Linked DNA regions of Homo sapiens: all the other regions are linked to region 6. Evidence: promoter capture Hi-C in 16 types of primary human blood cells and fetal thymus (Javierre and others, 2016). All regions are on one chromosome and are shown on one strand. The core of a region is centred on a gene start or on the middle of the fragment in contact, and the rest is flanking DNA. Distances in the headings are between cores, read along the strand shown.

Region 1 (4,118 bases), core at 1,135-3,634, 640 kb after region 6:
ATGGAGTAGGCTATGCACGAGAAGCTGCCAGATATTTCTAGGGGAAACAGACGGCAGGAAAATGAAGCATTCCATCCTCCTTTCCATCATTTGAAAGTGGCTTCAGCAGCTGCCAGGGCCTCCTGACTAATGTGCCCTTCCCCTGTCTCACAGTGCTCAGCGGAGTGTGGGGCCGGAGTGCGGACACGCTCGGTGGTGTGCATGACCAACCATGTCAGCAGCCTGCCCCTGGAGGGCTGTGGGAACAACCGGCCGGCAGAGGCCACCCCATGTGACAACGGACCCTGCACGGGCAAGGTGGAGTGGTTTGCCGGGAGCTGGAGTCAGGTGAGTGGCCAGAACTGGGTATGTCTGCCTGTGTCAGGCAAAAGGCAGCATACCAGAGGGGTTAGGAACCAGGACTTTGTGTCAGGTGTCCCAGCTTTGAATCCCAGCAGTGCCACTGTCTATCTGTGACCCTGGAGAAGCTATTTATATTTCTGGAGCCTCAGTCAGTCAACAGTATTCATTGAGCACCTACGGTGTGCTCATCTAAGTACTTGGGTTACATCAGTGAGCAACACAAATATCTCTGCCCTCAGGGGGCTTATGGCCTAGCATGCTTTCCTCATCTATACAATGCTGGCAGTGATGGTACCTTATGAGGTTATTTTTAGAAGAAATGAAATTGTGTACATAAAGTATGTAGCACAGTGCCTGACACAAAATAAATGGTGGCTGCTGCTATTATTCCTGTTAATAAAGCCAGTTTTTCTGTATTTGACAGTATCAGAAGCAGAAATTTTAAAAGTTGGAATTGTTCATTATGAAGAATAAATAATACTGAATACTTTAATAATTGATGAATTACATTTTCCCTCACTCTTCCAAAATTGAACGTGAACCCCACTAAGAAAATGTGGAAATGACTGCCTTGGTTTGATTATCATCAGTATTGGAGTTCTTGAGCCACTTAGCATTTGGCTCCCAGGGCTGGCTGGTTCTCCAAGGACTGTTTGGCTTATGATCATGATTTACACATTATCAAGACCTCTGGCTCCATATAGAATTTTATTTCTTTTAAGTAGCATTAAAAACTGACCTTGGAAAAAAATGCACTGCCTTATCCTTGTAAATTGACACAAGCCCTTGGGAAAGCAATTTGGCAATAAAAGTCAGGAACCATAAAAATGTTCCTTTGCCTTAACCCAGTCACCCCACTCCTGGGGATTCATTTTAAGGAAATAATTAACAAAAGAAAAAAAACAGCCTTTTTCAACAGAGATGTTCATGACAGCAGGATGGTTACAGATATTATGGCATATCATAACTCAGTAAAATATAAGGTGACAATGACAGCGATCGTTAGGAAGATGTGAAAGTGCATGTGGTATAATGGCAAGTGAGAAATAGAATGTGAAAATATTCAAACCCTATCATCTCTGCCACTTCAATGTAGAGTTTTTATGCAAAAAGCATAGGGAAATGTTTTTCTATTCAAATTCCCTTTAATGTTTTTTAAAATATAGAGAATTCAGAAAGAATTCAAGTACTTCCAGTGCTACTCTGGTGAATATCAAAGTTAGACACATTTGCTAACTGATCCCAGCTTGACTTCTCATGAGTTTTCTGGCTCTAGGTGAGTGATTTAACCTCTCTGAGCCTGTTTCCTCATCTGAATATGAAGGTAATCATATCAACCTCTTAAGGTTGTTACGAGGTTTTCATAAGATGCTATACATAAAGAGAATTACCCATTGCTTGGGATATGGGAAACACTTAATAAATATTGGTTCCCATCTCTCTATGTTTATTTTTTCTGCCAGCTATTTCTATCTCATTACTGGTAGTAAAATACATAGGACCTAAACCCCAAAGATAATTCAGCAGCGACTGTATATAGGACACCAATTATACCAAATATCCATAGATGTGTGAAATCATATCAGATCATTACAGTCACACACGTGAAGATAAGCAGTACAATCGAACTCATATGTCTACCATTCTTAGAAGAGAAGGGAGCAGGATTCAGGGCCTTTTTTGCTTGTGGCTTCCTATTGACTTTAGACCTAAGCTTAAAGAACCAAGGGTGGTATGAACCCTGGCAAAGACAACCTTTATTTCTGCTAAGATTAGAAACAAAGGATTTGTTGCCCTGTTGTCCAAAAGGGTCAAGATACAATTGAATGTGGCCAAGGGTTTTGGTTCTGGATTTATAAGGATGTCAGGGCCTGCTGGAAATTCCCTGCCCTAGGAATTTGACATTATCCCCAAAGAAAATGAAATAAGAGCATGCTTATTTCTTGAAAGGTAAGTTTTAAACATTAACTGGCTTCAGAATATAAAAATAAATGTTCCTTCTCACCATATGGGTTGAATGAAAGTTGGTATTTCGAATACCCCACCAGCCTGGTCACAGTGATTAGTCCAGGAGTAGACATGTGATCCAACAGGTGGATGTGTGACCCAAGCTGAGCCACAGAATCCTTCCCAAGGACATTTCATTTGTGTTTTAGGGAAGAGACTCACTAAGAGGTTGTGAGCTCAAGGGCTGGCAGTGGCCCTACTGAGGCTTGTGCAAAAAGCCAGTCTGAGAGAATGAGACCTAAGTCCATGGAGAGGCAGAGACCAAGGAGTTTCTGGCTTTAGAGTCTTTCTGACTCCACCAAGAAAGGAATATATTCCATTTCTGCTGCTTCCCAGATCCCTGGAAACTAACTAGGAGTATATCAAGCTTAGGGAGTCTTTTTCTACTCTGGAGGCACAGTAGCCCAACTCTTACTCATGAGAGTCTACCAAGTCTATTATTTATGCCCAGAATTATTTCCTTTCTTCTCTATCAATTCTGAGTTTACTGCAACCTTAGATTGTCTTAGTTCCGGGGAGATCTGTCACAGTCTCTAGTCTTCAGGAGCAGCCATTTTGTCTGCCTCTGGGTCTGGATTGCATTTTATTGATTGCATTTATTGCAATAGATATATTTATTCTCATCTCTTCGCGAATCAGTGATCCACAAAAGTGCAACTGCAGGAATTCTTTAGGTACAGAAACATGCCTAATTGCCATCACTTCTCACTGAAAGCATTTATCCCTATTAAATATTACTTTTTCTCATGTGTGCTTTTCTCTGTGGATTACATTTTATCTACTATTTGAATTACTCCATCTTGTTTCTTATTGTTGATTTTCACCTGATGTATCTTCATCAATTTCTTAATTTTCAAACGTTCTATGTATTTTTAAGGTATGTCTTTCAGGACTATTTTTGTCTTTATTTTTACCCAATCTATAAACCTCTGTATTTTAAGAGTTAAATTTTAACCATTTATATTTATTGTAATCACTTATATGTTTGGACTTTTCCCTACCATCTTATTTTGTGTTTTCTATTTTCATGCTTTCTTGCTTCTTTCCTCTTTCCTTTCAACATGCTTGTTATTAGTCAGGTTTTCTTAATTCCATTTTTTCCCCTCCAACATTTTGGAAGTTATAAATCTTCTAGTGGTATTTCTTCTGTGATAAGATTCAAATTTTTAGCACAGAATTTTAAACTTTTATGTCTCCATTAGTGTCAAGTTATCAGTGACCACATCCTCTCCTAAAAGAAAATAGAAGCCTTCCCCTTTTATTTACCTCCACTCTCTCAATCTACAATATCTCCAAAAAGATGTTGATATTATCTGGATCTAGCTCCAGATTAATGTTAATTTTATAGAAAATATAGATTTAAATTTTAAAATAGTTTTCTGCTTTCCCCCCAAAGATTTTTTTATTGAAATATAATTCACGTACCATAAAATTTACCCTTTAAAAATATAGAATTCATTGGTTTTTAGTAAATTCACAAAGTTGTACAACCATATTCAGCATTATCCAATTCCAGCACATTTTTATCATTCCAAAAAGACACCTGGCATCCATTAGTAATAACGGCTTTTATTGGTGTCTTTGCCAGCTCCTTCTTTTATGTCCTGTGTCTTCTTCCTGGTTCTTTTTTATTTTGCTAAAGACTATAACCCAGGAAGTCTTTCAAATAGGATTTGTAAGTGGTAAGGTTTCTGAGCCCTTGAATACCTGAAAATGACTTCATTTTGCACTTTGACACGAATGCTTCTGGCAGATGACTCACTGCTTCC
Region 2 (4,373 bases), core at 1,394-3,893, 670 kb after region 6:
ATCAGTTTCAGTCACTGGGCAACAATTGCACAAGGACTGGTTGAAAAAGTCCAGCGCTGCCCATCCTACCCGGGCTCAGTGTGACCAATGTGATCTGAGGCGGCTTCTGGAGGAGTGCACCCCCCACCAGGGGGAGGCAGTGAGCCTGCTCTGCGCAAGGGGCAGACCCAGGCTGGGACCCTCTGCCTCCAGTTCCGGGGACCACATGTCATAAGGTTTATTGACTGTCTGGAAAAAGCCCAGAGGATGGTAGGATGGTGACCAGGATGGAGGGGTTCTGGAAGGAGGGCTGTCTTCAACCTTCAGACAATTTAAAGTACTGTCAGGGACAGATGACAAGAACCCGGACTCCTCCAGCAGACCAGGGCAGGGATGTGACTGGGAGTCAGACTTGGTTCAAAATGAGACGTTTCCAGTAATCAGAGAGGCTGAACAATGGGAAAAGACACTTTAAGAGACAGGGCCAGGGGCAGTGGCTCATGCCTGTAATCCCAGCACTTTGGGAGGCCGAGGTGGGCAGATCACTCAGAAGTTCGAAAGTAGCCTCAGCAACATGGCAAAACTCCATCTCTACAAAAATACAAATACTTAGCTGGGTGTGGTGGTGCACACCTGTAATCCCAGCTACTCAGCAGGCAGAGGTGGGAGGATCACTTGAGCCTGGGTGGCAGAGGTTACAGTGAGCCGAGATCGAGCCACTGCTGTCCAGCCTGGGTGACAGAGTGAGATCCTGTCTCAAAAAAAAAAGAGAGAGAGTGAGTGAGACCCCCAAAAAAGTGATCAGGAACATTTTAGGAGAGGGAAAATTTGAATATGGGCTGTATTTAAGATGACATCATTGGCCGGACACAGTGGCTCACGCCTGTAATCCCAGCACTTTGGGAGGCCAAGGTGGGTGGATTGCTTGAGCCCAGGAGTTCGAGACCAGCCTGGGCAACATGGCAAAACCCTGTCTCTACTAAAAACACAAAAATTAGCTGGACCTGGTGGCGGACACCTGTAATCCCAGCTACTCTGGAGGCTGAGGCACGAGAATCACTTGAACCTGGGAGGTGGAGGTTGCAGTGAGCCCAGATCATGCCACTACACTCCAGCCTGGGCGACAAAACAAGACTCTGTCTCAAAAAAGAAAAAAAAATGACATTGTTGAATCTGTGTAAAGCTTCTTGGACGTGAGGATGGTGTTTGGCCAAACAGGAGTACATGTTCCTCCAGTACTTAGCCAGGAAGGTCATGATCTGCTGTTTACCTTCTAATGGGTCACTAAAAGTGTGTGCGTGTGTGTGTGCACACACATGCACATGTGTGTATGGAGAAAGCATGCACACAGATAAGGTAAGATGTATTTTGGTGAATATTAGTGAAGGGTATGTGGTGTCCATTACACTACTTCTCTGAGGTTTGAAATTTCCTAAAATAGAAAGTTGTGGGTGGCAGAAATAAAGTACAAAAAGGGGATGGGGAGAAAGAGAACTAACTTTTTTCGCTGTGTTTTTCAGATTTACCTAATAAGAATTAACTGGGGTGCTCATTCAACCTTGAAGGTAAGCAAGGTAAATTATGTGCACAAACAAATGTTTTTAATTGTTTGAATTTTTTTCAATGAATCATTTATCAATTATGGTTTAAGAAGAATGGCTAGCTGAGCATGGTAGCTCATACCCATAAAGAATCCCAGCACTTTAGGAGGCTGAAGGGGGAGGATCACTTGAGCCCAGGAGCTTGAGACCAGCCTGGGCAACATAGTGAGACCCTATATCTAAAAAAAATGAAATAACAATTAGCCAGGCGAAGTGGTGCATTCCTGTAGCCCCAGCTACTCAGGAGGCAGTTCAAGGCTGCAGTGAGCTCTGATTGCACCACTGCACTCCAGGCTGTGTGACAAAGCAAGACCCTGTAGAAGAAGATGAGGAAAGGAGGAAAGGAAGAAAAGAAGGAGAAGGAGAAGAAAGATGAAAGAAAGAAGAAGGAGGAGGGGAGGAGGAGGGGGGGAGGAGGGAGAGGAGGGGCAGGAAGAGGGGAGGAGGAGGAGGGGAGGAGGGTGAGGAGGACGGACAGGAGGAGGAGGAAGGGGAGGAGGAGTAGGGAAGGAGGAGGCGGGACGAAGAGGAGGAGAAGAGGAGGAGGAATGGTCAATACTTAGTAGACTCAAGTGCAATTTAATAAGGCGCCTTACATCACTTTATCGGGAACAGTTGCCTTGGTCTCTCTGACCAAGAAAAGAGAGAGAAGCGGGTTTACAAAGTGCTAGGAAAGAAGACACAATATTAGAATGGGTTAACGAAGCAAAGAACAAGCCTTCCAAAAGTGGACAGTGGAGCCAGTGGAGAGGAGGGGAGGTCCCAGGAGAGGGGACAGGAATCTGTGTGGTGATCCTTGCCCTCATCAAGGCTGGGGAACCCTGACTGGGTGAGCACCACTCGATGTCAGGTATCGTCCGAGTCTCTACAGCACTTAGTTTTCATCTTCGCAACAACTCATGAAGCAAGCACTCTTGTGCGGCCATTTTATGGACAAATAAATTGAGGCCCAAAGAGAATAAGTAATGTGACCAAGCTATTAAGTGGGACAGTCTGGCTTAGGTCTTCCTTATGCCTCACTGTCTAATGAAATCAACTGGAACTTCTTTTAAAAGTGATATGGGGGCCCTACTCCCAGATATTTTGATCTTCAGTTGATTGAGGGTGGGGACCAGGCATCGATGTTTTGAAACCTCTCCAGGGAATTCTAGCTAAGGCTGAAAACACTGAGAAGAGTATGTCCCACTCTGATGTGCATATGAATTGCCTGGGGATGTTGTTGAATTTCGGATTCTGATACAGTTAGTCTGGGGTGGGGACTGAGTTCTAACATGCTCCCAGGTGATGCTGATGCTGCTGGTCCAAGGACCGCACTGAAAAGTGAGGCACCTCACCCTTCAGAATGCTGAGGGGTTTCCTATATTCACCGGGAAGATGAGCAGGTGACCTCTGAGTCATTTGCTTTCTTTATAAAACAGTCTTCTATGAAGTCTAGATGCTAGGTCTGAATCTACTAGTTCACCTTTTGGCCAATGACGCTTAGGGACTCTGAAGTGGTTTTAAGCCTCTGTGCTCCTGCATAGGTGATTTATTTGTTTTTACTAGATAATTGGTGTATTTAGGCACTCAGCTGTCCACACAAAAGAGAAACCTTGACTGCACTGACTTGGGGACTTGTTTTTGTTGGTGGGTTTTTTGTTTGTTTGTTTTTTGAGACAGAGTCTCACTCTGTCACCCAGGCTGGAGTGCAGTGGCGCGATCTTGGCTCAATGCAACCTCTGCCTCCCAGGTTCAAGCGATTCTTGTGCCTCAGCCTCCCAAGTAGCTGAGATTACAGGTGCATGCCACCATACCCAGTTAATTTTTGTATTTTTAGTAGAGACGGAGTTTCACCATGTTGGCCAGGCTGGTCTTGAACTCCTAGCTTCAGGTGATCTGCCCGCCTCGGCCTCCCAAAGTGCTGAGATTACAGGCGTGAGCCACCGCACCTGGCCGGGAAGTCCTTCTACTAAAAATGCAAAACTTAGCCAGGCATGGTGGCATGCCCCTGTAATCCCAGCTAGTCGGGAGGCTGAGGTAGGAGAATTGCATGAACCCAGGAGGCAGAGACTGCAGTGAGCCAATATTGCACCACTGCACTCCAGCCTGGGCGACAGAGCAAGACCTCATCTCAAAATATAAAAAAAGAAGTTCAGAGGGAGGCAGTTGTTGGATTAGGTCTGCAACTCAACAGCTTCAGGGCCAGCTTCTCTGCAGCTCTCTTGGCCTCTTCTTCATGGTTGCAAGCCAGCTTCTCCTGCTCCACCTATCATGTCCATCTTCAGGGAAGAAAGCAGGAAGGGCCATTGCAGCTGTGTATCTCCATTTGCCAATAAACCAAATACATTCCCAGAGCCCCATCCTACGTCCCACAAACTTCTATTTACATCTTATTGGCCAAAGTGGGCTCCATGGCCATTTGTGGCTGCAGAGGAAGCTGGGAAGACAGAGAAGGGATTGTTATGCTTGGCTGTGACCAATTGGGGTTCCATTAGCAGAGAAGAAAGACAGGAAGGATGTGGGTGAGACAACCTGGGATGTCTGATTATTGCACCCTTACCAAGCAAAAGCTTCTAGGAAGGGACAACAAAAGTTCAAACACCGCAGTGTCTGTTCATCTTTGACCCACTGAGGAACTACTCCTTAAAATGGGTTTAGGTCGTACATCCTCCCTTTATTCAGCAAATATTTATTGAGCACACACTCTGTGCCAAGCAATGTTTGGGGCAATGGAAATACATAAATCTCATGGAACTTACAAAATGCTGTGCAACCTAAAACACTTGCAGATAAGGAGACCTATTGCATCAGGCT
Region 3 (3,860 bases), core at 276-2,775, 610 kb after region 6:
AGTGATGCAAGATAAGGCTGGGCTGCAGCATCTGGGGGAGGAGGCCTCTATGATGGGATATATATATATATATATATATTTTTTTTTTCCCCCCAAGATGGAATTTTGCTCTGTCACCCAGGCTGGAGTGCAGTGGCGTGGTCTCGGCTCACTGCAAGCTCCGCCTCCTGGGTTCACGCCATTCTCCTGCCTCAGCCTCCCAAGTAGCTGGGACTACAGGTGCCCACCACCACGCCCAGCTAATTTTTTGTATTTTTAGTAGAGACGGGGTTTCACCATGTTGGCCAGGATGGTCTTGATCTCCTGACCTCGTGATCCGCCAGCCTCAGCCTCCCAAAGTGCTGGGATTACAGGCGTGAGGCACTACGCCCAGTCTTTTTTGCCTAGAGCAATAGAAAGCCATTGAAGAATTTTGAGCCATCGTTGGTAATCTAATCTACATTCTGAAAATACTGTTCTAGCTGAACAGAAGAGAAACAGGAAGATCAATTAGAAGATATTTTATTAGTCCAGATGAGATCTCATGGTAGCCTGGCCCTGGATTATGACAGTGGACATGAAGAGAGGCGGAGGAGGTTAAATAAGATTTGATGACGGGTTAGATTTGGGGGGATAGGAAGAGAGGAGGTATCCAGGATGATTCCTGGGTTTCTGATTACATGGATGGTGGTACCATTTACTGAGATAAGAAACACTGAGGCCGGGGTTGGGTTCAGCCTTAGACAAGACATCTGACTAAAGCTGGCAAGGAGGTAATTAAATAAGATTTGATGACGGGTTAGATTTGGGGGGATAGGAAGAGAGGAGGTATCCAGGATGATTCCTGGGTTTCTGATTACATGGATGGTGATACCATTTACTGAGATAAGAAACACTGAGGCCGGGGTTGGGTTCAGCCTTAGACAAGACATCTGACTAAAGCTGGCAAGGAGGTAATTAAATAAGATTTGATGACGGGTTAGATTTGGGGGGATAGGAAGAGAGGAGGTATCCAGGATGATTCCTGGGTTTCTGATTACATGGATGGTGGTACCATTTACTGAGATAAGAAACACTGAGGCCGGGGTTGGGTTCAGCCTTAGACAAGACATCTGACTAAAGCTGGCAAGGAGGTAATTACATATGAAATTCTAAGGCCAGAGGCAAAGTTTGGCCTGTCAACATAAATTTGTGAGTCATTCACATATGGTAGTTGAAATCATGGTCCTAGGAAATTGCTCATGAAAGGAATATAGTGCCCAAAGCAGGTCTACTCTTATTCCTTAAGAAATTCTGATATTTAATAGCCAGGTAGAGAAAGATGAGACAGAAAAGAAAACAGAAATGAGCAGCCTGAGAGCAGGAGGAAAGCAAGGGGAGTGTGGTTCCCAGAAGCTGGGGTGAGAGTGTTTCAAATAGGATGGAATAGTGCCAAGTGCTGCCGAGACATCTGAAAAGAGGAGGCCTGGGAAACACCCATTGGATTTAGCAACATGGGGGTCTTGGTGAGCTAATTTTAAATTTCCTCAATGGAATGATGGAGGCAGAAGCCAGATTGGAGATGGTTGAGGAATTAGTGGGAAGTGAGAAAATGGTAGACATTATATGGACCACTTTTTTTCCTTTTTTTTTTCTGAGACTGGAGTGCAATGGTGCGATCTTGGCTCACCACAACCTCCATCTCCCAGGTTCAAGCAATTCTCCTGCCTCAGCCTCCTGAGTAGCTGGGATTACAGGCATGCGCCACCATGCCTGGCTAATTTTGTACTTTTAGCAGAGACGGGGTTTCTCCATTTGTTCAGGCTGGTCTGAAACCCCCGACCTCAGGTGATCTGCCCGCCTCAGCCTCCCAAAGTGCTGGGACTGCAAGCATGAGCCACCGTGCCCAGCCGCACCACTTTTGAAGAAGTGTGATTCTTCATAGAGAATAGCCCCAAATCTGTTCTTCCTCAGTTTCCACCCTTGACCCTTTTTTGCTACTCAGTAAGCTGAATTGATCTTGTAATTCAGTAGTGAAAGGTCTGCAGCTTTGCCCTCCCTGCAGCCATGGCACCAGCCAGCCCAGTGTGGAGTCTGCAGGGGGAGCCCAGCTGGAGTTTGGGCCACTCCAGCCCCTCTGTGCAGTTTCTGATTCTACAGGCCAGAGCTCTGGGAAGGCCCATTGTAGGAACGCGGCTGAAAAAATGAGTTTAAGAAAAAGTTCTTATATTTTAGTGGTACCTACTGAAAAGTTGAAGGATACATATTTGCAATGTGACACAAGAGAAGCCATGAGCTGATCCTTGTTGAAGCTGAGCAATGGGTACATGGGGGTTTATTATATTGTTCACACCACTTTTGCATATGTATACATTTTTCCATAACAAATTATAAAAAGTTAAATTTAGGAATTCTATAAACCGAAGGTGCAAAGAGCCAGTGGCCATCACAGGTCCACTATGTACATAGCACTTAAAACAGGACCTTCGGCTGGGCGCAGTGGCTCACGCCTGTAATCCCAGCACTTTGGGAGGCTGAGGCAGGCGGATCATCTGAGGTCAGGAGTTCAAGACCAGCCTGACCAACATGGTGAAACCCCGTCTCTACTAAAATACAAAAATTAGCAGAGCATGGTGGTGAATGCCTGTAATCTTAGCTACTCAGGAGGCTGAGGCAGGAGAATTGCTTGAACCCAGGGGGCAGAGGTTGCAGTGAGACGAGATCGCACCATTGCACTCCGGCCTGGGCAACAAGAACGAAACGCCATCTCAAAAAAAAAAAAAAGGTACCTTCTCTAAACCAGTCCTCCTTTGGATTGTGGGTTTCCAGGTGCCAAGGGTAGCTGAAGAAATTCTATTTCCAGATGCCACCCTTTCTTCTCCTGTTAACTCCAACACCTTGTTCCTTGCCCCCTTCTCCTTTCGTACCCGCCTCCTGAGTACACACTAGAAATCACAGGTCTGACCCCTATGGGCCTCATGAACTTGAACAAGTTCCCTCCCATCTCTGAGCCACTCTGAAAAATGGGGATTATAACATCTGCTGTGCAATGTTGTGACGATTAAATTTGACAGTGCACGTGCGGTATCTAACACAGCCCACAGCCTCAGATGCCCAGGAACTCAGGAAGGTCATAGAAGTGAATGAAGCTGACCAGGTACATGAGAAAATCATGTGACCCTCTTAGCTTTAGCTTTGCCACTTGTAGTAGACATGTAAGTAGAGAGAATTATAAGAAAAATTCTGGGCCAGGTGCAGTGACTAACACCTGTAATCCCAGCACTTTGGGAGGCTGAGGCAGGCAGATCGCTTGAGCTCAGGAGTTTGAGACCAGCCTGGGCAACATGGCAAAACCCCATCTCTTAAAAAAAAAAAAAAAAAAAAAAATATATATATATATATATATATATATATATATATACACACACACACACACACACACACACACACACACAAGCCAGGCATGGTGGTACATGCCTATAGTCCCAGCTACTCAGGAGGCTGAAGCAGGAGGATTCCTTGAGCCCAGGAGGTTGAGGCTGCACTGAGCCAGGATCACACCACTGCACTCCAGCCTGGGCGATGGAGCAAGACCCTGTCTCAAAAAAAAAAGGGGAGGGCTGGGAGGGGAGAAAAAATTGGATAAGAAAAAGAACAATGCAAGTATGATAAATGATATAAATCACCCATATTCATAAATAAAGGGGTAATAAACTGAGACTTAACCTCAGTGTTGGGGGGCAACAGGGAGGGGTGGGGACTGGGGCAAATCAGAGCATATAGGGTCCATCTGAGAGGGACAGCCATCCTGGGCTCCAGCCGATTGCTGCCATGAGGGAGTGTGAAGCCAATGTTAACATGTCTTCCTGGTTTATAAGAGAAGCCAGAACTCTTAAATTTTT
Region 4 (3,953 bases), core at 1,103-3,602, 540 kb after region 6:
GACACTTCCTGTTTACAGGAGACTATAAAACTTTCGCCCTGTCCTCACTTGGGGCTGACGCCATTTTAGGCCTCAGCCCGCCTGCACCCTGGTGCTCATTAAAACAGCATGTTGCTCCACACCGCCTCCTGTTGTCTGTTGGCACGCTCTCAGGGTTCGAACCAGTACAAGAACCTTACACTTACTAGTCTTGATTTTTTTAAAAACTGAGAATTATAAAATATACTTTAGAAGGATTCCTATCCAAAAAGCTAAAATAAAAATGCATAGGGTTTTAGAGGAAAATTCTGATGAAAGAATGGGAGAGAGAGAATTATTATAACTAAATTCGATGAATGAATTAATGAGTATCAAGATCTATGCTCAGACCCTTGCTGTAAGATGGCTCCATCAAAGGCCTGCCCCCCAGTGGAGTTTCTGCCTCAAGAACACTAGTATTCTTTCAGGTTGTCAGGCCAGGAACCTTGGTCTTCCTTACTCCACCTTTGGTAGAACATCCATCTTCAGTCCAGTTGGCCATTCCTTCAGCGTGATGTTGGTGGGCCCTTGCCCTCCATTCTAATTTCATCTCTCTGGTCCAGGCCTCCATCACTTTGTGCCCATCTTAATGCAGTTGTCTGTGTGTGTCCCAGTCTCCAGTCTCTTCCATCTCCAGTCCATTGCCCGTGTTTGCCAGACATCTTCTGAAAAGAGCTCTTCAGCCTGCCATTTCCCACTCAAGAGTCTTCGGATTTAAGATCCCACACTTTCGTTGCCAGCCTTTTCTCTCATCATCTCGTCCCACTCACCCAGTCAGTCCTCTCAGCCGTCCCTGGAGATGGCCCAATGATAGCTAAGAAGCCTATATATTCCCCAATGTTGTAACTCATTTACACAGATTTTAAAGCATTTTTCTTGAACATTTTGGAAATACAAGATTTGAATATTTCACCCACCTTTTTTTTTTTGATGTTCCAAAAAAATTTTAAGAAATGAAATCATGCCTTAACAACATGGCAGAAACTTGCACATAAGAGCACAGTAAATATGCAGTCAGCCTGCATCTCTGGGTCCACCCTTCTTGTGTTTCTCAACAGTCATTGTTTTTGTTAATGTTGGATCACTGCTTCTTGTACTTAAACTAGTTGTTTAGGTAAGTACCCTCTTGCAAAGGCTTAGAGGTGCCATCTTGTGGAGAAAAATGCAAACAGGCACATTTGGCTGTGTGTTAAGGAAATGACAAAGATGCCGGCGTGAATCTCCATCATTGCCTTCTGGCCATGGGGACGGTCCCGTGAGAGCCTTCTGGGGACCTGCATTGGTAGACACAGGCCATCTGCGCTCAGGAGGCCCTGTAAATCAGGCCAGTGTGCAAGCAACCTCCATCCTGGATCAGAGTTCATCAACCCAACTCACTATTGCCTTTTTGCTGATAATCTAGCCTCCAGAACTCTGCCTTATAGGGTGTAGGCAGTGTCTCTCTGCTCCATTCTGCAAGGAACTTCCTAGTCTTGACCCCTTATCAGCCCCAAACCACAGCTTCTAACAGACCCATCCCACGTGGTTTTTTCCTGCTGCCAGCCCCTCCTGAGACACTAAAAAATTACAATAAAATCTGGCCAGACATATTATGATCTCTTTAAACACAATTCACCATACGGCTCTACACATTAAAAGTAAAGTGAAAGTCTAGAGGTTTCTAGTATTCTATACAAAAATATGGTTACCTTACTTTTATAATAGAGCAATTATCACTGTCAAAAGCTATTTCAGGCCTCTCTCCTCCTTCCCCCATTTCAATCCATGGAGGAGGAAAATTATGAAAGTAAAGCATTAGAATTTTAGAGTTTGGGATATCCCCACCCTCCAGAGAACGATGACCCTTGTTGGAATTGGGGGAGGTGGTAATTATCTTACAGAATATGATATGTTTACCTCTCGGGACTCCTTTCTTCAGATTTGTAAACATAGCTGCAGTTGATTCTTACCCAGTTTTATCCTACAAGAGCGCCAACATTTTCTTCCAGTTGAGTCCCTTGATAAGATGCTATCCTATTATGAACTAGGATGAGGTACTGAAAAGTGACAGCCATAAGCTTGATTAAAACCAGATCGCTCGTTTTACAATTGCTTTCATTTAGGAAGCCAAAATACCTTTTATGCCATGGACCATTTCTTCTCTTCAAATGAATGGCATCGTCAATTTGATCTTCATTGATTCCTGTTTCCAATTTAATTTTGTGTATATACAGCAAATTTCCCTCCCTTTAAACATGGCAGGATTCTTCATATCAGGGCTGTATCTCTTTTTAAAAGAAAAATTTTGGCACCAGAAGGGACCTTAGAGATGAGCCAGTTCGAAGAGCAGGTTGGTCCTGTAACTTTGATCTTTTGATTCTTCAACCAGCTGCTCTTTCATTCAACAAACGCTTATTAAACACCTACCAAGTCGCAGGTACTGTGCTCTTTGCAATACATAATGATACTCCTGCTGAAGCTAAGCCAAGAGGCAATCTTAAAGAACTCGAGAAGGTTTGATAGCAGTAAGGAACTATTTTTGGAAACTGGATAATTAAGTGTTCTTTGCTTATTAGCTTCTCTGACATTTACAAAGGCTGTTTGTGCACTTCTGTGGAACTACCATCATTTTAAAGCTTTCTGGGGAATCTGTCATGTGCTCCTCGGTGTCCCATGAGCTTTGGAATAAAGAGCAGTGATTCTCAACTGAGGGTGATTTTGCTCCCATGGGGAACATTTGGCAATGTCTGGAGACATTTTTGTTTGTCACACTGAGAGGGATGCTCCTGGCATCTGGTGGGTAGAAGCCAAGGATGCTGCTAAACATCCTACAATGCATAAGGCAACCCCCATAAGAAAGACCTTTCAGGACCAAAACATCAGTAGAGCTGGAGTTGAGAAGCCCTCACCTTGAGGAAGAAGAGCAGGCAGGAGGATGAGAAGCTAGGTTTCTAAACCCTGACAGTCCTTCAACCAAAGCAGTTCTGCTCTTCTCATTTTGCATAGTGGAGCTTTGGATTTCCACATGAGATTTTATTTTTGAAGTATATTTTTTTCTACTTAAAAAAGTTGAAGACTACTGTGGTAGAAGACAACTCTCTGCCTTCTGTTTTACAATTGAGTCACTTTGGAACAAATCAAGTGGGTGTATATGATACAGGATGAGGGCAGTCAGGGGTAGATTTGGAAGCATCTACCTGAGCCTTGGTTTTGGCTGCACAGGACTCGACATTTACAAACAATATTGAAGTGATTTGATTGTGTCTGACTTTCAATTTAGACCAGGGATTGGCAATTTTTTTCTGTAAAGGGCCAGATCTAAATATTTTAGGCTTTGTCGACTTTCCTGTTTGTGTTGCAACTACTTAATCTGCTGTTGCAGCACAAAAGCAGCCATAGACAATAACTAAACAAATGGGAGTGTTTGTGTTCTAATAAATCTTTATTTATAAAAACAGGTTGTGAGCCAGATTTGGCCTACTAGCTACAGTTTGCTGACCCCTGATTTAGACTGTAAATAGGAACCTTGTTTGTTTTACCTTCATGTCTCCGCTGCCTACCACTGAATTGGCACGTAGTTGAAGTTGGCTCAGGAAACATTTACTGAACTATATCGAAGGTCAGTTTTACAGGCATAAGTGTTAGAAGATTTTAATGAGAATAACAACTGGAAAAAGATCCACCCAGAATAGATTAACTGTTTCCTTATGTTGAACATTTAGGATGTTTCCAATTTTTTATTAACAATACTGTGATGAGCCCTTCATACAGAAACTGTTGGCCTGATTTCTTATTTCCTGGCATAAATTCCTAGAAGAAGAATTTACTGGATCAAACGGTCTATATTGCTAAATTGCTTTCCAGGAAGGTGGTATTGATCTACATGCCTAACAGTAATAACAGGAAGATATTTATCATATACAAAGGATTTCTTTCAACAGAATGTCATGAATAAA
Region 5 (4,241 bases), core at 203-2,702, 690 kb after region 6:
AGGGTCCAAGCTGAGGAGCCTGTAGAGCGTCTAAAGTCATCAGTGGCACCTGTTGTTTCATTGTTCGTGTAGGCAGCTTGTATGTGTATACATATTTTAAACTTATTACCTAACATTTCAATCACAAAAGCAATTAGAGATAAAAGGTCCATGACACCCATGTACCCATCACCCATATCAATAACTATCACCTTCAGTCCTCAGTTCATCTACTCCCTCTTTTCATTCATTCGTTTATTAAAAAAAAACAACAACAAAAAAAAAAACAGTCTTTAAAAGCAAATCCAAGACATTGACTCACTTCTGTAAATACTTCAGAGTATATCTCTAGCAGGATTATTTTTTAATTAAACATATCCACAATACCATTGTCATAACAAACTAATAACCCCTTAATATATTCTAATTGTATATATTGTTTTTAAATATTTTATCTTCAAAATAATTCGACTTCCACAGAAGTTTTTGTTTTGTTTTTTGTTTGTTTGTTTCTGAGACAGAGTCTTGCTCTGTTGCCCAGGCTGGAGTGCAATGGCATGATTTTGGCTCACTGCAACCTCCGCCTCCTGGGTTAAAGTGATTCTCCTGCCTCAGCCTCCCGAGTAGCTGGGACTACAGGCGCCTGCTTATAGACAAGGATAATAATGACAATGCTTATCTGATTGTGTTGTCGTGAGGATTAAATGAGTTTACACATATAAACGCTTAGAACTGTGTCTGGCACATAAAATTTCTTAATAAATATTTTCCATTATTATTACAGCTCGTATTTTTTAAAAATTAACCCGTCTCTTTTAAAAAGACAAAAAAGCTTTATTTTATCTTGATTATAATTCTAGGCCAAGCACACTGACTTACGCCCTGTAATCCCAGCACTTTGGAGACCAACGCAGAAGGATCGCTTGAGCCCAGGGGTTCGAGACCAACCTGAGCAACATAGGGAGACCCCCATCTCTACAAAAAAATTAAAAATTAGCCGGGTGTGGTGGCACACACCTGTGGTCCCACCTACTCAGGAGGTTGAGGCAGAAGGATTGCTTGGGCCCAGAAGGTCGAGGCTGCAGTGAGCCATGATCACGCCACACTGCACCCCAGCCTGGGTGACAGACCGAAATCCTGTCTCAAAAAAAAAAAAAAGAAAAGAAAAGAAAATGAAAAAAGAATGCATACTCTGAGCCTGAGAGCCAGATAACTTTTTGGACACAGCCCTGACTGCTGTTCCTCCATGGTGTCCTCACCACCAGCATAAATGAACTGGTCAGTCAGCTAGTGTACCCTGGTGTGGTTGTGCCTGTTGTTAAACGTTTAAAAATAGTTCTATACTGGTTTTCAAATAGCTTCCTGCCCCAGCCTGCCCCCAGTGTTCTGGCCCCTCCCAGGGTCTCCAGATCTGCCCATGGCCCAGCAACTAAAGGGTTTACACCTGGTGCAGCAGGTGGACGGGCGGCCTCTGCACTGGGGGCTGCAGCTGTTCCAAGCAGCGGAGGCTCAGGCCAGAGCAGCCGCTAGAGATTTAGGTCCTCCTCTTGGGTGAAGAGGGAGAGAAAATGAAAGCATGGGGAGCTTCTCATTTTCACACATAAAGACTGAATTTCTTTATAAATATTTCCTATCATTATTAGTATAGGTAATATTGATTTCAAATTAGTCTCTTTTTTTAAAATACAAAGAACTGTATTTTATCCAGGTTAGAGCTGTAATACATGTGTATTATTAAACATTCAAATGAAACAGAAATATTTGCCTGTGGGGAGAATGTCTGCGGTGGCCTCTGGTGACAGCTCTGCAACAGAACTGAGACAGCCACCTCGCATGGTGCTTGGGAGTCAAGCCAAGCTAACCTGGAGGTCTTTCCTGTCAGTCATCTCGGGTACAGAGGAGGAAGAGGTGACCCAGGGTGGAGCAACAGATGGTGCATGTTCCAGACAGGCTGCTTTTTGTCTGCCTGTCCCAGGACAGGGCAGGGCCCCCGCCAGCCCTGCTTAGACCTTTAGAAGAGTTCAAGGGGAAAAAGACTTTACTAGTCAAGGGCTGGGAAAACTGTGCAGGGGAATATCTGATCATTTCTAAATGTTATCTTGAAAAGAAAAGAAAGAAGCTTTATTGAGAAACATTCCCGCTGGTGTCTGCCTCTCGGAGCCCTGCACCTTCCACTCCCTGCTCTAGAAAGAAAACCATTGATTCATTTAGGTCCTGCCAAGGAGACAAGCATCCCATGATCTTCAGCCAGAAATTCCCCTGGGCCACATGAAATCAAACTATCCATGTCTGTTTTGTAAGTGGCTTTGAAGTTGAGACATTGTGGACATATTTCCATGTAAATGAATATAGGAACACCACCAGCTGCAATGGCTGCATGGGATTCCACTGTACAGAGGGAGTAGAACTTATTTAGCCAGTTGTCTAGAAAATTGCTGCAGGGTACATCCATATAATTAAATCTTTGTAAAATTTTCCAAGGGATAGTTTCCTGGAGTGTGGATGGCTGAGGCCTCAGCTCCAGGGCCTGTGCACTCCCCACTAGCTATGCTTCAAAGAAGGTGAAGACACTTGGGGGTGGGGGGCAGGAATTCGGGGGGTGGGCAGGAATTTGTGGGGGTGGGTGACTGTTTAAGAAATAAATCCTGGGCCAGGCATGGTGACAGCACTTTGGGAAGCTGAGGCAGAAGGATCACTTGAGCCCAGGAGTTCGAGACCAGCCTGGGCAAGACAGGGAGACCCCATCTCTATGAAAAACTAAAAAGTTAGCCAGGCATGGTGGTGTGCACCTGTAGTCCCAGCTACTTGGAAGGCTGAGGCGAGAGGATCTCTTGAGCCCAGGAGACTGAGGCTGCAGTGAGCTGTGATCTCGCCACTGAACTCCAGCTTATGTGACAGAGCAAGACCCTGTCTCAAAAAGAGAAAGAGAGAAAAAAAGAAAAGAAGGAAAAGGAAGGAAGGAAAGAAAGAAAAAATAAATCCTGGGGCCAGGTGCAGTGGCTCACGCCTGTAATCCTAGCACTTTGGGAGGCCGAGGTGGGTGGATCACCTGAGGTCAGAAGTTCAAGACCAGCCTGGCCAAGATGGTGAAACCCCATCTCTACTAAAAATACAAAAATTAGCCGGGCATAGTGGCGGGCGCCTATAATCCCAGCTTCTCGGGACGCTGAGGCAGGAGAATTGCTTGAACCCAGGAGGCAGAGGTTGCAGTGAGCCAAGATCACCCCACTGCACTTCCAGCCTGGGCGACAGAGCAAGACTCCGTCTCAAAAAAAATAAAATAAGGAAAAAAGAGATCCTGGAAGATTTGTTCCCAGCACCCAGTATTGTGGCTGAGACATGCCCCAGACAAGAAGCCCAGAGAGCCGCTCCCCCTAGAGAGGCTAGAACAGGGGATTCCTTGCCAGGGCCCTGAGGATGCAGAGGGAGGTCAGTCCTGCTGCCCCTATCACGCCTTGTTATTCCACCCCCAACCGGCCCAGACCTCCTGGGAGTCAGAGGAAGTTGCTGACCTGTCCCCTGGGGGAATAATTGTATTAGTGATAAGGTGGCCTCTGGCAGCTTAGTCAGCAGATTCAGGGCTTTGGGCTGAGTAATCCTTTGGCGTCTGCCCCAGCAGCTGGTGATCACAGATCGGGGAGACCCCCCCAACCCCCAGGCCCTGCTGGGCTTTGGCTTCCATTCCCCCAGCACAGTGCATAGGGCACAGCTCTGGCTGGCCTGACCTGCCAAAGAACCCAGGGCCAGGCTCAGAGGGGATTTTGGCTGGCATCCACGTGATGGAGTGACAGAATACAGTCAAAATCAACAGCGTAAAAATGGGCCGGTCAAACACTGCAGGGGGCTTTCATTTAGATGGGACTGGGTTTCTTGTGTGGCCTGGCTTGTTTTGTTTTTGCCATTTTAGGTAATACATACCCACTACAGAATACAGGGAAATACAGACAAGGTTGAAAACAGATTCTCTGTCCATTAAGTGCCTTGGGATCCTCATCCCCAGCTAACCCGAAACTCTAAGCCTGTTCCCTGGAATCTTCCATCTGGATGGAGGAGAGAAAGTTGACCTGGAGTGAGGTTCAATGTAAGGACAAGATCTGCACCCGGAGAAGCTCTCTCTCGGAGAGCACAGGCGGCCTGAGGAGTCAAAACAGGTGGCCTGTGGAGTCAGCACAGGCAGCCTGGAGGAGGTGAGCCCTGGACAGGCCTTCAGGGATGGGAAGGGTCTGGGCAGAAGGAGCAGGAGGGCCAAAGCCAGCCCCGCT
Region 6 (3,876 bases), core at 765-3,264:
TTTGCTCCTGAGCCCTGTTCGCCCCAGACATTATGTGATGAACTCACTCCGTTCTTTAAGATCCAGCTCTGCAGAGCATCTCAGATTCCCTGTCCTGAGGCAGGTACTCCTGTATGAGCTCTTAAATACTTCTGCATTTACCTACCACCTACTGGTATGGTTTTCTGACTATATTTCATCTTCTTCGCCTCACGTGGAGTTTCTTTTAGAATGGAAAGTTTTCTTCCTTTCCTCTTTGAATCCTAGCACCAAGGCCACACTCGGCACTGAATACCTGTCTCGAATGAATGAATAAATCAATCTTGTTTGAACAAATCTTATTAGTTTTGCTTTTTTAAAATTATGGTAAAATGTACATAACATAAAAATTTCCATTTTAACCATTTTTAAGTGTATAATTCAGTGACATTAAGTACATTCTAAAGTTGCGCAGGTTTTTTTTTTTAAATCAGTTCTAAATGGTTTAAACTGGCCAGTATTTACTAGAGCTGTTAGATCGACTTAATTTGGACCCATGAGACTCGTGACACTCAGAATTAATCTAATCCCATTTACACCAGGTGCCTCCCATCAAAATCTGTTTGATCAAGTGTGGAATTATTTCATCCCATTGGAACCAGCTCTTGAATCAATCAGAACTGGCTCTGCCAGGCTCCGGGCCAGTAGTCGGTGCTCAAAATGGTGTTTCTTTCTTTGGCCTAATCTCTTGAGTAGCCTCTTTCCCTTTTGTTAATTTTTTTTTTTTTCTGGAGGACAATCTTCCCTGGGAGCTCCCTTCTGCTCCCACGAAGCGCTCTGCACCCAGCCCTGGTGCTGCCTGGCTCTGGGGCAGGGAGCTTGCATTCTGCCACCTCCTTCATTGTCCTCTCGGTATACCTGCACTTTCAAAACAACCCCTGCAGGCAAGCTTTAGAGGCAGCGATAAACAAACAGGCTGACTGAAATTTAGGGAAACGCCTGTATCTGGACAGCCTCTTCAAATATTTGTCACCCCCTCCCTGCTCTGGGGAAAGAAGAGACAGTTCCTCACAGTCACTCTATTTCCTGCCTTCCCAGCTCTGAACACCTTGGCTCGAATGTAAAGAATTTGGCTCTGAATTAGGACTCAAGAAACGGGGCCCTAGCAATTTTCCCTCCATTAACTAAACGCGTCACTTTGGTCATGCCCTTTTGGGGGCAATAATTTCCCAATTCGTAAAATGAAGGGATCAAAGTTTGATTTTTATCATTACTAATGAGAAGAATTATTATTTTTTTGCAGCAGGCTTTTTTTTCCCCAACAAAATATTACTCTGAATAAGACAAGAAAGAATCCCGAACGGCTCTGGCCGTCAGGGTGTGTGTGTCTCCTCCCCATGCTGTCTAACCCCCGTTGGAATTTGGAGGGCTCTTGTCCTTTCCCCTTGGCCTCAGAAGGAGCCCAGCGCGTCCTACCTTGCGTGGGAGTGTGTGTGTGACCAGGGCTCCTTCCTGCCCTTAGAGTCACCGCCCCCTTCTCGCACAGGTTTACAGCACCACTTGCCTCGCCCACTCCCCGCTTTGCCTCCGCCCCATCCTGATGCTGCCGGAATGGCTGTTCCAAATGGAAGGATGCCCGCGTCCGTCCCCTGCCCCAGTCCTTCAACAGGTCCCCACAGACCTCAGGATAAGATGAACGCGGAATTCAGGGCCTGGTCTCAACCGCCCTCTCCCTTTTCCTCTCACTTAGACGACCCTGGCCAGCTGGGCCACTCTCCACTCTCGCCCCCTCCCGCCCTCGTGGCCTCTGTCTAGACCGTACTCCCTCCTACTGGGTGATGTCTCTTCCCCTGGGACCCAGGGACCATCCCGTTGTTGACCTCCGGGGTCAGGGGTGCGGATGGGGGCCGGCCCTTCCCGCGGTCGCCGCCAGGGGGCGGCAGGAGCGGCTCCAGATGACAGCGGGAGGCCGCAAGAGGGGAGGGAGGAAGGACCGAGGGAGCGCGGATCCCGCTCTCGGATCGCAAACTCTGAGCCAGAGCTCTCCGCGCGCGCCTGAACCGCTGGCCGCCCGCGCAGCCCGACGCGGAATCGGGGCACAGCGGGAGCCCGTGCAGGGCGGGCGCGGGGCGGCTGGGCGGCGGTGGCGGCCGTCCATGCGGCGGCGCTCGGGGCTGCCCGGCGCCGGGAACCACGCGGGGGCGAGGCGAGGCGAGGCGGCCGCCGGTCGCTCCGGGACGCGGACCGCCAGGTGAGCAGAGCCGCGCGCCCCGCGTCCCCTGCGCGCCGCCCGCGCGGCCCCGACCCGGCTTCCGCTGCCCAGGCTCCGGCTCCCGCTCTCTGGCCGGCGGGGCGGGCTGGCGCGGGCTACCCAGTGGGTGTGTCCGGGGCGCCGCGGGCTGCGCCGCTCCGGGCTCGGGGAGCCAGCGCGCGCCTGGTCCGTGCGGACGGCTGCGCCTCCTTCTCTGGTTCTCTTCCTTGCTGGGAGTCTTGCTCTGTGCTGGCGCCGGCGCTCATCCCTCCACCCTCGACTCTAGGGACAGTCTTAAACTCTAGGGACAATCCACCTCAGTCGTCCCCGGGTCGGGGCCCCGTGCTCCCCGGGTCGGGTCGGAGGGGACCGGCGAGTGCACACCCAGCCCGTGCGCCCCCCACCTCAGCCTCGCCTCCCTCCCGCCTGGGGCCCGAGAGCCGGGCAAGTCTCGGTCAGCGCTCCTTGAGTCCTGGCCTGGGGCCTCGGATCTGTGTGTCTGTCTGTCTCAGTTTAGTTGCTGCAACCCAGCGAGCGCCTGGAGCCCGAGTGGATGGGTTGTTTCCGCCAACTCTGGACACTTCCTCAAGTGCAGCCTAAGTACCTGCGGCCCCTTGGCGCACTTACAGAAGTAGCTTTTGCACAGCGAGCTCACCTTGGAGCTCTACAGATCTGGAAGTTAAGTTTTCTTTTTATTTGAAATAACATCAGCCCTCACTTGGGAAGGGGATTTTAGGGCGTTCTCGGGCCCACCTAAGTATCTGGAATTTGTGGTCTAGTAAGTTTTTTAAGCAGTCCGCACCCAGCACCGTACCTCCCAGCCTCCTTTGCCGTCTTACTAAAAGTGCATGCTTGCTTCTCTTCCTGTCTCCTTTGCGATCTCTACCACGCTGCGCTTCGCCCTTTTCGGGCTATGAGTCTAAAGCTTGGACGTGGGTAGCAATCATTGGATGCCTGTTGGAATTTGGAATTAGAGAAATAGATACCCGAGAGAGATCTAAGGAATCGCCTTGTCCAACCCTCCTTTCACAGTTGGAGGCACCCAGGACCCCTGACAGTCTGAAGATTTTTCAAGGATCACACAGCTTTTAAAATCCGCGTGTCTTCTACTTGATTAATATTGTTGGAGGTGATGGAGTAACTGGGCTTACTAGGGTCTTACTGGGTCTCAATATACAAAGAAGCAAACATTTTAAAAATGTGACTTAAAATACGGAACTCTTCAATTCCTATAGATTTTTGTTGGCATCATAGTTGAATTCCTTTAGAAAACAAAATCCTAGCCCTGAAATTAATGTGAGGAAGCAAGCAGATGGGCGTCCTGGGACTTTCCTATAAATCTCTGCAGGGCTGGAGCAGGGATTTCCCAGAGGTCTGGGCCTGGGAAATGAGTTTGGGTGATCAGGATACTGGAGCCCCTTCTGAATAAGCAACTGGGTTGGTTTCTTGTGGGGAGGCTGGCCAGTGGAACTCATGTGATCTCCTCTGTGCCCAGCACTGGGCGGGGCACCAGCTTGGCATTACCTTCTTTTTAGTCTCCTATGCCATAAAGAAATATTTCTTACTGGCTGTTAGCGAAAGAAAAATACAGCCCAGAGTTTGGGAGGAAGATCAGGGGTGGGGAGATTTTTGACTTGGAGTTTGTTTTTGTTTTTGCCTCGAAAAAC

Evidence for each region. The method cuts DNA at HindIII sites, captures the fragments that hold promoters and counts their contacts. A CHiCAGO score of 5 or more calls a contact.
Region 1: a fragment that was not itself captured here is called in contact with the fragment with the promoter of CT62 in region 6 in 1 of 17 cell types (endothelial precursors); the score reaches 5.4 in endothelial precursors.
Region 2: a contact is called between a fragment that was not itself captured here and the fragment with the promoter of CT62 in region 6, in 1 of 17 cell types (endothelial precursors). The highest score is 5.1, in endothelial precursors.
Region 3: a contact is called between a fragment that was not itself captured here and the fragment with the promoter of CT62 in region 6, in 2 of 17 cell types (M1 macrophages and endothelial precursors). The highest score is 5.6, in M1 macrophages.
Region 4: a fragment that was not itself captured here is called in contact with the fragment with the promoter of CT62 in region 6 in 1 of 17 cell types (endothelial precursors); the score reaches 6.4 in endothelial precursors.
Region 5: a fragment that was not itself captured here is called in contact with the fragment with the promoter of CT62 in region 6 in 5 of 17 cell types (endothelial precursors, M1 macrophages, M2 macrophages and 2 more); the score reaches 8.6 in endothelial precursors.

The regions. Positions count from the first base shown.
Region 1 is chr15:71,757,749-71,761,866 of GRCh38, forward strand. THSD4 (thrombospondin type 1 domain containing 4) reads left to right here. Exons shown (of 18, transcript NM_024817.3): 15 at 154-327. Among named protein-coding and RNA genes, the nearest start is that of NR2E3, 51 kb to the right of the region's middle. RefSeq lists an enhancer at 3,480-4,118. The HindIII fragment of the contact is 660 bases long and covers 2,055-2,714 here.
Region 2 is chr15:71,784,779-71,789,151 of GRCh38, forward strand. No RefSeq gene overlaps it. Among named protein-coding and RNA genes, the nearest start is that of NR2E3, 24 kb to the right of the region's middle. The HindIII fragment of the contact is 2,967 bases long and covers 1,161-4,127 here.
Region 3 is chr15:71,724,210-71,728,069 of GRCh38, forward strand. The region is part of intron 8 of THSD4 (thrombospondin type 1 domain containing 4); the gene reads left to right. Among named protein-coding and RNA genes, the nearest start is that of THSD4-AS2, 35 kb to the left of the region's middle. The HindIII fragment of the contact is 7,320 bases long and covers 1-3,860 here.
Region 4 is chr15:71,650,712-71,654,664 of GRCh38, forward strand. All of the region lies in intron 7 of THSD4 (thrombospondin type 1 domain containing 4), which reads left to right. Among named protein-coding and RNA genes, the nearest start is that of THSD4-AS2, 39 kb to the right of the region's middle. The HindIII fragment of the contact is 558 bases long and covers 2,074-2,631 here.
Region 5 is chr15:71,803,039-71,807,279 of GRCh38, forward strand. No RefSeq gene overlaps it. Among named protein-coding and RNA genes, the nearest start is that of NR2E3, 5.4 kb to the right of the region's middle. RefSeq lists a silencer at 1-6 and an enhancer at 1,727-1,796. The HindIII fragment of the contact is 1,287 bases long and covers 810-2,096 here.
Region 6 is chr15:71,113,490-71,117,365 of GRCh38, forward strand. CT62 (cancer/testis associated 62) reads right to left here and starts at 2,015. Exons shown (of 4, transcript NR_168260.1): 1 at 1,435-2,015; 2 at 142-274. THSD4 (thrombospondin type 1 domain containing 4) reads left to right here and starts at 1,982. Exons shown (of 18, transcript NM_024817.3): 1 at 1,982-2,209. RefSeq lists silencers at 1,796-1,845, 1,882-2,059, 1,906-1,965, 1,996-2,135, 2,286-2,375. The HindIII fragment of the contact is 2,227 bases long and covers 906-3,132 here.